Regions from separate parts of the Homo sapiens genome. Here region 1 is linked to region 2. Evidence: promoter capture Hi-C in 16 types of primary human blood cells and fetal thymus (Javierre and others, 2016). All regions are on one chromosome and are shown on one strand. The core of a region is centred on a gene start or on the middle of the fragment in contact, and the rest is flanking DNA. Distances in the headings are between cores, read along the strand shown. Region 1 overlaps IFT74 (intraflagellar transport 74). Region 2 holds the start of CAAP1 (caspase activity and apoptosis inhibitor 1).

Region 1 (5,220 bases), core at 485-2,984, 140 kb after region 2:
ACGTTACACCTCAAGGAACTAGAGCAACAAGCACAAACAAAACCCAAACCCACCAAAAGAAAAGGAAATTACAAACATCAGAGCAGAACTAAATTAAATTGAAACAAAAAATTGAAAGATAAATGAAGCAAAAAGCTGGTTCTTTGAAAAGATAAACAAAATTGATAGACCAATAGCAAGATTAATCAAGAAAAGAAGAGAAAAGATCCAAATAAGCTCAATTAGAAACAAAATGGGAGATACTACAACCAATACCACAGAAATACAAAAGACCAAGCTTACAGTGAGCACCTTTACACGCACAAACTAGAAAACTTAGAGGAGACGGATAGATTCCTGGAAATATACAATCCTAGATTAAAGTAGGAAGAAATAGAAACTCTGAACAGACCATTAACGAGCAGTGAGATTGAAATGGTTAAAAAAAAAAAATTGCCAACAAAAAGTCCAGGACCAGATGGAGCCACAGCTGAATTCTATCAGACTTTCAAAGAATTGGTACTGTTTTACATTTCTATGTAATATAATAAGAGCAGCATATGAGCAGCATGTGAGGGTTCCAGTTTTTCACATCCTCACTTGTTATTATCTCTTTTTCTATTATAGCCATTCCTAATGGGTATGAAGCGGTGTCTCACTATGGTTTTGATTTGTATTTGTTTGATGGCTAATGATGTTGAGGTTCCTTTCATATGCTTATTGGCCATATTCTTTGGGGGAAATGTTTACTTAGTTCATTTGCTCATTTTTTAAACTAGATTGTTTTTGATTACTGAGTTGTAACATTTCCTTATATATGCTAGATAGAGGTGTCATCAGATACATGATTTGTAAAAATTTTCCCTTGTTCTATGAATTCTATGAATTATCTTTTCATTTTCTTGGTGTCTTTGGAAGCATAAAAGTTTCCAATTTTGATTTTGTCCAGTTTTTCTATTTTTCTTTTGTTGCTCTTGCTTTTAGTGTCATATCTAAGAAACCAATGCCTAATCCAAGGTCATAAAGACTATGTCTATGTTTTCTTCTAAGAGTTTGGTAATTTAGTTCTTACATTGAGATCTTTGATCCATTTCAAGTTAATTCTGTGTATGATGTGAGGTAGGAGTCCCTTAGCTTCTGCATATGCACTTTTCCCAGCACCATTTATTGAAAATACTCTTCTTTCCCCATTTAATTACCTTAGCACCCTTATCAAAAATCGGTTAGCTATAGATATATGGTCATATTTCTGGACTCACAATTTTAGTCCATTGATATATATGTCTATCCCTATGCCTATACTACATTGTTTTGTTATGGTAGCTTTAGAGTAAGTATAACTGCTTTATGTTAAAATATTAACCTATATAATCTTCTGCCAGTGGTAGGTTTTCCCTTATTTTCTCATTTTTGAGACTAATTTTCCAACTTAATTTGGCTTATAGAAACCTACAAAAAGTATTGTTAAATATTTTTCATTTTCTTAATACTGCAAATCAAACTCAAAGGAAAGTTGGGAGGGGGTGTGCTGTTTAACTCAGGCAACTAGTGTTCTCAGAATATACCTGGGCTCCAAATATGAATCAGTAAAAAAGATCTATGCTTGGCGCAGTGGCTCGCGCCTGTAATCCCAGCACTTTGGGAGGCTGAGGCAGGTGGATCTCGAGGTCAAGAGATCGAGACCATCATGGCCAACATGGTGAAACCCCGTCTCTACTAAAAATACAAAAATTAGCTGGGCATGGAGGCGCGTGCCTCTAGTCCCAGCTATTCGGGAGGCTGAGGCAGGAGAATCGCTTTTTCCCGGGAGGCAGAGATTGCAGTGAGCCGAGATCGCACCACTGAACTTCAGCCTGGTGGCAGAGCGAGACCCCGTCTCAAAGAAAAAAAAAAAAAGATCTAGACAAGATTCTTCCTCTCTAAATTTATAGTATTGTCCTCATAATAGGATATGCTATTTTTCGATATTTATGCAATTTGTAAAAGATATCCTAATGTCATCGTCAGTTATAGTATTGTCCTTAGAATAAGACATATTATTTTTAGATATTGTTTATGCAACTTGGAAAAGATATCTAACCTCCCCATCAATTGTTTTTATTGAATGTCTATATTTCCTTCATAAATTCATTAAAAATATTTTCAACAGGTTAACAGATACAAAAGAAAAGATAAATCAGTTTATTGAAGAAATTAGACAACTTGACATGGATTTAGAGGAACACCAAGGTATGCTTCTGGTATTTTTATAATGTAGATTAACAGATGTTTAGCAGTATTAATATAGTGTTAACTGGTGTCTCAGAGACTGTTCAACTACCTGGGATTTATTATTTAATTCTCTATGATATTACTAACTTTACTAAAATATATACTGTATGAGTAATATTAAAGCAATGATTTAAACTGACCACTTATGAGTTAAAATGATTGCATAAAATTTATTTAGCTTTGCCAAGCAGTTTGTTTTTTTTTTTACAAAAACAGAAGTAAAATGTTTAAAGTTGTTAGAGATTCCTAAGTTATACTTCCTCCTAAGTTACACTTCCTTCCTAGTAATAGTCAATAGTTTACTATAAACAATATAGTCGGCCGGGTGTGGTGGCTCACGCCTGTAATCCCAGCATTTTGGGAAGCTGAGGCGGGCAGATCATCGGAGGTCGGGAGTTCGAGACCAGCCTGACCAACATGGAGAAACCACATCTCTACTAAAAATACAAAAATTAGCCGGGCGTGGTGGCACAGGCCTGTAATCCCAGCTATTCGGAAAGGCTGAGGCAGGAGAATCACTTGAACTCGGAGGCAGAGGTTGCGGTGAGTCAAGATCGCACCACTGCACTCCATCCTGGGCCACAAGAGTGAAACTCGGTCTCAATAAATAAATAAATTAATTAAATAATAATAATATAGTCAACTACTAATGGCAGTAACTGGTAGCGTTAGAGGGGATGAAAATCAAATCACAAATACCACACAAATAATCCAGACAGAATTAATTCCCCACCCAGGTCTAGTAATGAAGTAGCAAAGACTGATTAACCTTATCCTCCCCAACTTTCCCCAGGAGTGGAATTTGAAGAACTAATGCAGGTACCAGAACACCTGAGGGAGCTTGGGGTTTGACTATGTAGAAATACTGTGGTGGGGGTTTGGGTGTGGGGGCTACATTGTTATTTATGGTTAAAGGAGGAGGTTGAGCATCAGTTTCCTAACAAGCTTCTCCCTAATAAGAAAGATAAAAGTAGATTCTCCATAGCATTTTAATCATAGTTTAACTGCAAACCAGTTACTATGCTCTTGGATTATCAAGAATTGATTGTATATTCTTATGAGTTAGGTATGGTATAAACAGTGTGCACATGTACATGTATTCTTGTTATGGCTAAGGAAACATTCATAGCGGTGCAGTGGCTCAATCACAGCTCACTGCAACCTCAGACTCTTGGGTTCAAGTGATCCTCCTGTCTCAGCCTCCTGAGTAGCTGGGAATATATAACGTCTGCCACTACATCCAGCTAAGTTTTAAATTTTTAGTAGTGGCGCATGCCTGTAATCTCAGCTACTTGGGAGGCTGAGGCAGGAGAATGGCTTGAACCCAGGAGGCGGAGGTTGCAGTGAGCCAAGATCACACCACTGCACTCCAGCCTGGGTGACAGAGCAAGACTCCGTCTCAAAAAAAAAAAAAAAAAAGGGTACACTGTTCTATATTTTAGCAGGGAAGGAATTTGTGTATGTGTGTGCTAACTAGAAACAATGAGAAATAGCTCTAATGAAAGTTATATGGTCAGAATTTGGCTACAAGCTCTGCATCATTAGTAAAGCGGAGTATTATTGGCAGATGTCATGCTACTTTCCAAAAAGCCTGAACCCATCCTGATTTCTCCTTTCTTAGTTGAAATGCCAACAATTGCATATTTGCTTAATTATTGCTTTTTAAAATATTGGCTCTGTATAAGCAAGGGAAAGTAATAGAAAAAGTATTGTTCTTCCAAGTAAAGCAGAACACACCAAGTGGACAATAGCAGCTTATATTTTCACTCAACATGGGATACTATTTTTAATAAGGATGTTTTTATCCTCAAGGCTTACTTCTAACATATAGCCAAGTGACTTTTTTGTTTTTAAATGGAGATGAATCTTGCTGTGTTGGCCAGGCTAGAGTGCAGTGACTATTTACAGGCATGATCATAGCTTACTGTGGCCTTGAACTCCTGGGCTCAAGCAGTCCTACTGCCTCAGCCTTCCAAGTAGCCGGGACTACAGGTCCATGTTACTGTGCCCAGCTTGTTTTTGTTAAGGAATCTGTTAAGAAATTCTTTTAGGTCGTGTGCGGTGGCTCACGCCTGTAGTCCCAGCACTTTGGGATGCCGAGGTGGGCGGATCACCAGGTCAGGAGATCGAGACCACGGTGAAACCCTGTCTCTACTAAAAAATACAAAAAATTAGCCGGGCCTGGTGGTGGGCGCCTGTAGTCCCAGCTACTCAGGAGGCTGAGGCAGGAGAATGGTGTGAACCCAGGAGGCGGAACTTGCAGTGAGCCAAGATCGCGCCTCTATGCTCCAGCCTGGGTGACAGAGCGAGACTCCGTCTTAAAAAAAAAAAAGAAATTCTTTTATTCTTACTACAGATTAATACTTGAGAGTTTATATCTTATATTGAAGTCCTTCAGAGTAAATAGTTTCTTCGACCACTTAGCTGAAATCAGGCCCTTAACTTTACTCATTTTTTTTTTTTTTTTTAATGAGATAGGGTCTTTCTGTCACCCAGGCTGGAGTACAGTGGTGTGACAACATAGCTCACTGCAGCCTCAAACTCCTGGGCTCAAGTGATCCTCTTGCCTTAGCTAAATAAAATAATAAATAAAATAAAATAAAATAAAATAAAATAAAATAAAATAAAATAAAATAAATAAAATAAAATGTAAAATAAAATAAAATAAAATGTAAAATAAACTCCTGAGTAGCTAGGACTACAGGTGCACACCACCATGCCCAGCTAATTGTTGAAAACTTTTTTTGTAGGGACAGGGTTTTGCTCTGTTGCCCAGGCTGATCTCAACGTGCTTGGCTCTAGCAGTCTTTCTGCCTTGGCCTCCTAAAGTGTGGGGATTACAGGTGTGAGCCACTGTGCCTGGTGTTTTACTCTTTACTAGTGTATTCCCTTACATTGAATAAATTCTATAAAGAACAGCATTACTATTATAAGACATGTCAAAGCCTTACACAAATCACAAAAAAAGTG
Region 2 (4,939 bases), core at 467-2,966:
ACATTATCTGACTAAAGGAGAAAAAGTATGTGATCATCTCAACAGAATGCCAGAAAACCACCTGATAAAATCTCTACATAAACTGTTTCTACTCTACCAAAGAGAATAATGAGCAGAGGATATGTACAGAAAATTACATAAGAAGAAATCAAATGGCAAATAAAAATATTAAAATGTTCAATCTCACTAATAAGGAAAATAAAAATTAAAACAAACTATTAATTTGACCCACTAGTCTGGCAATTTTTTTAAAAAATGCCATCAAAATGTCATCAAAAGCTAGTTAAGAATCTCAGAAATAGGTATTCTTATATATATACTGTTTGGACTATAAATCTGTAAAGTCTCATTTGGAAAGCATTTGGTGGCATTCATAAGTTTTTAATAGCATAAACTTTGACCCAGGAATTTCAGTTCTCACACTCTCTCCCAACATAACTCTTGTAGGAGATATATACATAAAGGTGTTTGTATTGTAGTCACAACAATACAAAAAAACCTGCACACCCAAATATCAGAAAAATATAATACAATACCAGGCAGTCAGTAAAAATAACAAACCACGTATATAAAGAAGCCTATCACAACAATGCAGGTATTCAACAGCGGGAATAACACAATACAGCTTAAGTGTAGGAACTTAAAAACACGTATCTCACGAGGAGTGATTAAAAGAGGCCGCGTATCAAAATACTAATGGAGGGGCAAGAAAAGGGACTTGACGCTTTCCCTTTATTTCCTCATTGAATGAATTTAAAGTACCTATTCATTCATTTGTTTTCAAACAAATTATGAACTTTTTTAAAACGGCGTTCTCTTGGCAGACTGGTGGCGTATAAAGAACATGGCTTTTGTAGTCAGATATTTGGATTCAAACCTAGGAGCTATTAACAAACTCTGTGACCGTGGGTAAAGTTTAACTTCTTTGGGCCTCAATTTTCTTATCTCTAATGCGGAGTTAACCATATCTACGAAAAGGTGAAGACGAAGGGAGAAGTGTTTGGCTCGCAAGGGAAATGAAGGCTAGCTTCCAACTCGTATTCTTCCGGCAGAGTGAAACCATAGGAGTGGAAGGAGCCAAGAGTTTAAAAAATAAATTAAAAAAAAAGTGATCAGGAAATCCAGAAACTTGAAGTTCAAGATTCAAGACACGGATGGGAGTGTGGGGCTCACCAGGACTTAGGTAGGAACATGAACCTCAAGGACGGACGACCTTGAGATTGCCGCGCTAGCAGTGAGCTCCAGCCTGCGCCCCATCCCTCTGGAAGCCCGACTTCTTCCGAAAAAGCAGCAGCTCCAGGAAGCGGCCAGAGGGGCGCGCACGCACCTGCTGCAAGGAGCCCGAGACGCTGGAAGAGTCGGTACTCCTCCGCTTCCGGCGCTCGCTGCGCTCCACGCTGCTCCCGCCCCAACAGCTGCCGCCGCTCCCACCGCCGGTGACACTTCCACTAAAATTGGCGTTCCCACAGCAGCTGACGCTCCCGCAGCCCCCGGCGCTCCCGCAGCCGCTAGTGCTTCCACTGCTGCCGCTGGCCAACGCGGGTACGATGTCCGGGGCCGCGAGCGCTGCGGCCGCCTCCTGACTGCTACGTTTGCGCCGTTTCTCCCGGGAGGACTTTTTCCCCGTCATGATCCCTCTGCTGCAACCATCGGAGGAAAGTCCGCTGTCTCTGGTGCGACCGAAGCCCGACTCCTGCGGCCGTGGGCGGCAGGCACTGGCGTCGCAGGTTATGCGTCACTTCCGGCCGTGGCACAGAACGTGGTGAAGCGTTATGGGCCGGGGTGGCAGGGGGGTTGCCATAACCAGTTGCGCTTCCCCCTCCGGTCGCGGAGGTCGATTTGAGTGTGTAGCGGGTAGCCTGTCTAGTCAGAGTTTGTTTTGTTTTGTTTTTATATCTCTACAAAGGATAGAAGGTGGAACTTACGTCCTTTTAACTTCAAAACTTTTTATTGTTAGTGTTTTGTCTGTTTACAATAAGGTTGAAGTATAGTTGCTGATTCTCCATTTCCGTTTACCTCCAAATCTTAAGATATTAACAACGCTATGACAATAAAGAGAATAGGGAAAAGTTGTTCCATCTCATTTTCCTCATCACCTGGGCAAATTAGGTATTTCTTGCGTAGAGTCTGACATGGACAAGTAGAGCTTGAGTTCGTTTTTGAAAATTGAGAATGGGTCAAAGCTTTATGAGATTTTATGGGTGGATGTAATCTAAATAGAAGGCAGATTTTAAGACAAGGGAGCTAGAACACTTAAAACGTGAACCAAGGTCTTTGTCGTTTCAGCAGGGGCCTTTAGCCACTGAGGGAAAAAGGTAGAGCCTGGGGCAAAGCTAGCTGGGTGGTAGTAATTCTGTGCCTTTCCCTGGGGTAAGAAGCAATTAAAGAAGCTTCCCTTCTCTTTGTCTCCTATTTGTCTCAGTCATTCAACAACTACTTAAATGCCTAAAACCAGCCTAGGGTTAATAAATAGGGACACTTCCAGCCCTAGGAAAACTGTCTTCCCCCAGGCCCCACTCTTAAATTGGCCTTGTAAGGTAAATCCTGGGGCTGAGCCCACTGTGTTCCCAGGAGTTCCGTTAAGTATCACACTCATTGGAGTCATACCTGAAAGGATTGAGAGTGTTGTGTTCACAGATAGGAAAAACACATAAAATTAATAACATGTTACATTTATAAACCTGTTATGAATTGTGTCCCTGAAACCATCATAATTTTAATAAAACTAAATTGCTAGATTTTTTCTTTTTTCTTTTTTTTTTTTTTGAGACGGAGTTTCACTCTCGTTGCCCAGGCTGGAGTGCAATGGCACAATCTCGGCTCACTGCAACCTCCGCCTCCCGGGTTCAAGCATTTCTCCTGCCTCAGCCTCCTGAGTAGCTGGGACTACAGGCATGCGCCACCATGCAGGGCTAATTTTGTATTTTTAGTAGACAAGGGGTTTCTCCATGTTGGTCAGGCTGGTCTCGAACTCCCGACCTCAGGTGATCCACCCGCCTCAGCCTCCCAAAGTGCTGGGATTACAGGCGTGAGCCATCGTGCCCTGCCAAATTGCTGGATTTGTGACAAAAGATAAGCTTTTAGTAGAAGCATAGCTAAACGTTAACCAACTTTTCCTATAGCCCACTTCCTTATAGCTGCTTATTGCTTTATAGATATCTTTGACTCGGTTAAGAAATCTCAAGTTTTCCATTTTGAGATATTTACCAGATTCTGTACTCCAATGGTGTTACAGAAGTTAAGAAATTATTTTAGGCAGATAGAGAGGTAAAGGGGTCTTTGGGAAGTTTTTTTTCTTTTAAAGCAGCTCCAGAAATGTTTCTTGTCTAGCAAAAAAGCTGGGCTGGCAAGCTATGATATGCAAATGCAGGCCGTTAGAAACTGGGTTTACTCAGTATGGCGATTCCCCTCTTCTTCTTGTCCCCACATGTGCCTAGCAACATGGCCATCCCCACATATCCCCACATGTGTAGAACATTGTGGCACCCTACATTCGCATATTAAAAGGCTAGGGTGGGAGGGCCACTTTTTTTGCAGGCTACGTGAATGACATACCTGGTCAAACCAATTCCCTGGGTCATATGCAAATTAGTCACCACCTCCTCCAGCCTCATAATATAACTGGCTCTTGTCTGCTGCACCCAAGGTTCCCTCTTTCATCTGGGAGCCCTCTTCCCTCTGGTTCTGTATGAGGGAGCCTCTTCTTTCTTGCCTATTAAATTCTCCGCTCCTTAAAACAATTCCACTTGTGTCTGTATCGTTTTATTTAAACCAGCACGAGACAAAAGACTGTGGTGTTCCTCCAGTCATTGGAACCATATCAGTGGGGTCACTGATGCTACTCAGTCTGAAGACCCCTTCTGAGAAACGAACTCAGCACAAGAATGCACTTTCTACCTCCTTATGATTACATCCCCCATGCCCTAACCAATCAGCAACCCCTAGCTCCTCAGCCCCCTACCCACCAAAATTCCCTTAAAAACCCCTGTCCAAAAACTTACTGGGGAGGTGATTTGAGGTTCCCTCCCATCTTCTCCCTTGGCTGGCATACCATTATTAAACTCTTTCTCTGCTGCAACTCCTGCTGTTTCCATGTATTGGTCTGGTACCATGTAGTGGTTAATAGAACCTGATGGTCCTATAACATCACCCACAGAATTCATATGTTGAATCCCTAACCCCAATGTGACTGAATTTGGAGATAGGGTCATTAAGGAGGTAATTAAGGTTAAATGAAGTCATAAGGGTGGGTCCCTAATCTAATATAACTGGTGTCCTTATTAAAAGAAGAGTCTGGGCCAGGCATGGTGGCTCACGCCTGTAATCCCAGTGCTTTAGGAGGCCGAGGCGGGTGGATCATGAGGAAGATGGAAACCATCCTGGCTAACACGGTGAAACCCCGTCTCTACTAAAAATACAAAAACAAAATTAGCTGGGCGTGGTGGCAGGCGCCTGTAGTCCCAGCTACTCAGGAGGCTGAGGCAAGAGAATGGCGTGAACCCAGGAGGTGGAGCTTGCAGTGAGCCAAGATCGCACCACTGCACTCCAGCCTGGGCGACAGAGCAAGACTCCGTCTCAAAAAAAAAAAAAAAGCCTGGTACAGTGGTGCATGCCTGCAGTGCAAGCTACTCAAGAGGCAAACTGGGGAGGATTGCTTGAGGCCAGAAATTCTGGGCTGTAGTGCGCTGTACTGATCAGTTGTCTGCACTTAGTTCAGCACTAATATGGTGACCTTTTGGGAGTGGAAGCCACCAGGTTGTCTAAGGGGGGTGAACTGGCCGAGGTCCAAAATGGAACAGGTAAAAACTCCCACGCTAGGCTGGGCGTGGTGGCTCACACCTATAATTCTAGCACTTCGGGAGGCCGAGGCAGGCGGATCACTTGAGGTCAAGAGTTCAAGACCAGCCTGGCCAACATGGTGAAGTCCCGTCTCTACTAA

What was found. The method cuts DNA at HindIII sites, captures the fragments that hold promoters and counts their contacts. A CHiCAGO score of 5 or more calls a contact.
Region 1: a fragment that was not itself captured here is called in contact with the fragment with the promoter of CAAP1 in region 2 in 3 of 17 cell types (non-activated CD4 T cells, total CD4 T cells and total CD8 T cells); the score reaches 5.9 in non-activated CD4 T cells.

What each region holds. Positions count from the first base shown.
Region 1 is chr9:27,026,897-27,032,116 of GRCh38, forward strand. It overlaps IFT74 (intraflagellar transport 74), which reads left to right. Exons shown (of 20, transcript NM_025103.4): 13 at 2,129-2,208. Among named protein-coding and RNA genes, the nearest start is that of LRRC19, 24 kb to the left of the region's middle. The HindIII fragment of the contact is 2,918 bases long and covers 276-3,193 here.
Region 2 is chr9:26,891,086-26,896,024 of GRCh38, forward strand. It overlaps CAAP1 (caspase activity and apoptosis inhibitor 1), which reads right to left and starts at 1,717. Exons shown (of 6, transcript NM_024828.4): 1 at 1,328-1,717. The coding sequence starts at 1,630. It also overlaps the pseudogene RN7SL100P. RefSeq lists enhancers at 1,116-1,695, 1,267-1,446, 1,527-1,746, 1,696-2,275, 1,877-1,946. The HindIII fragment of the contact is 2,677 bases long and covers 1-2,181 here.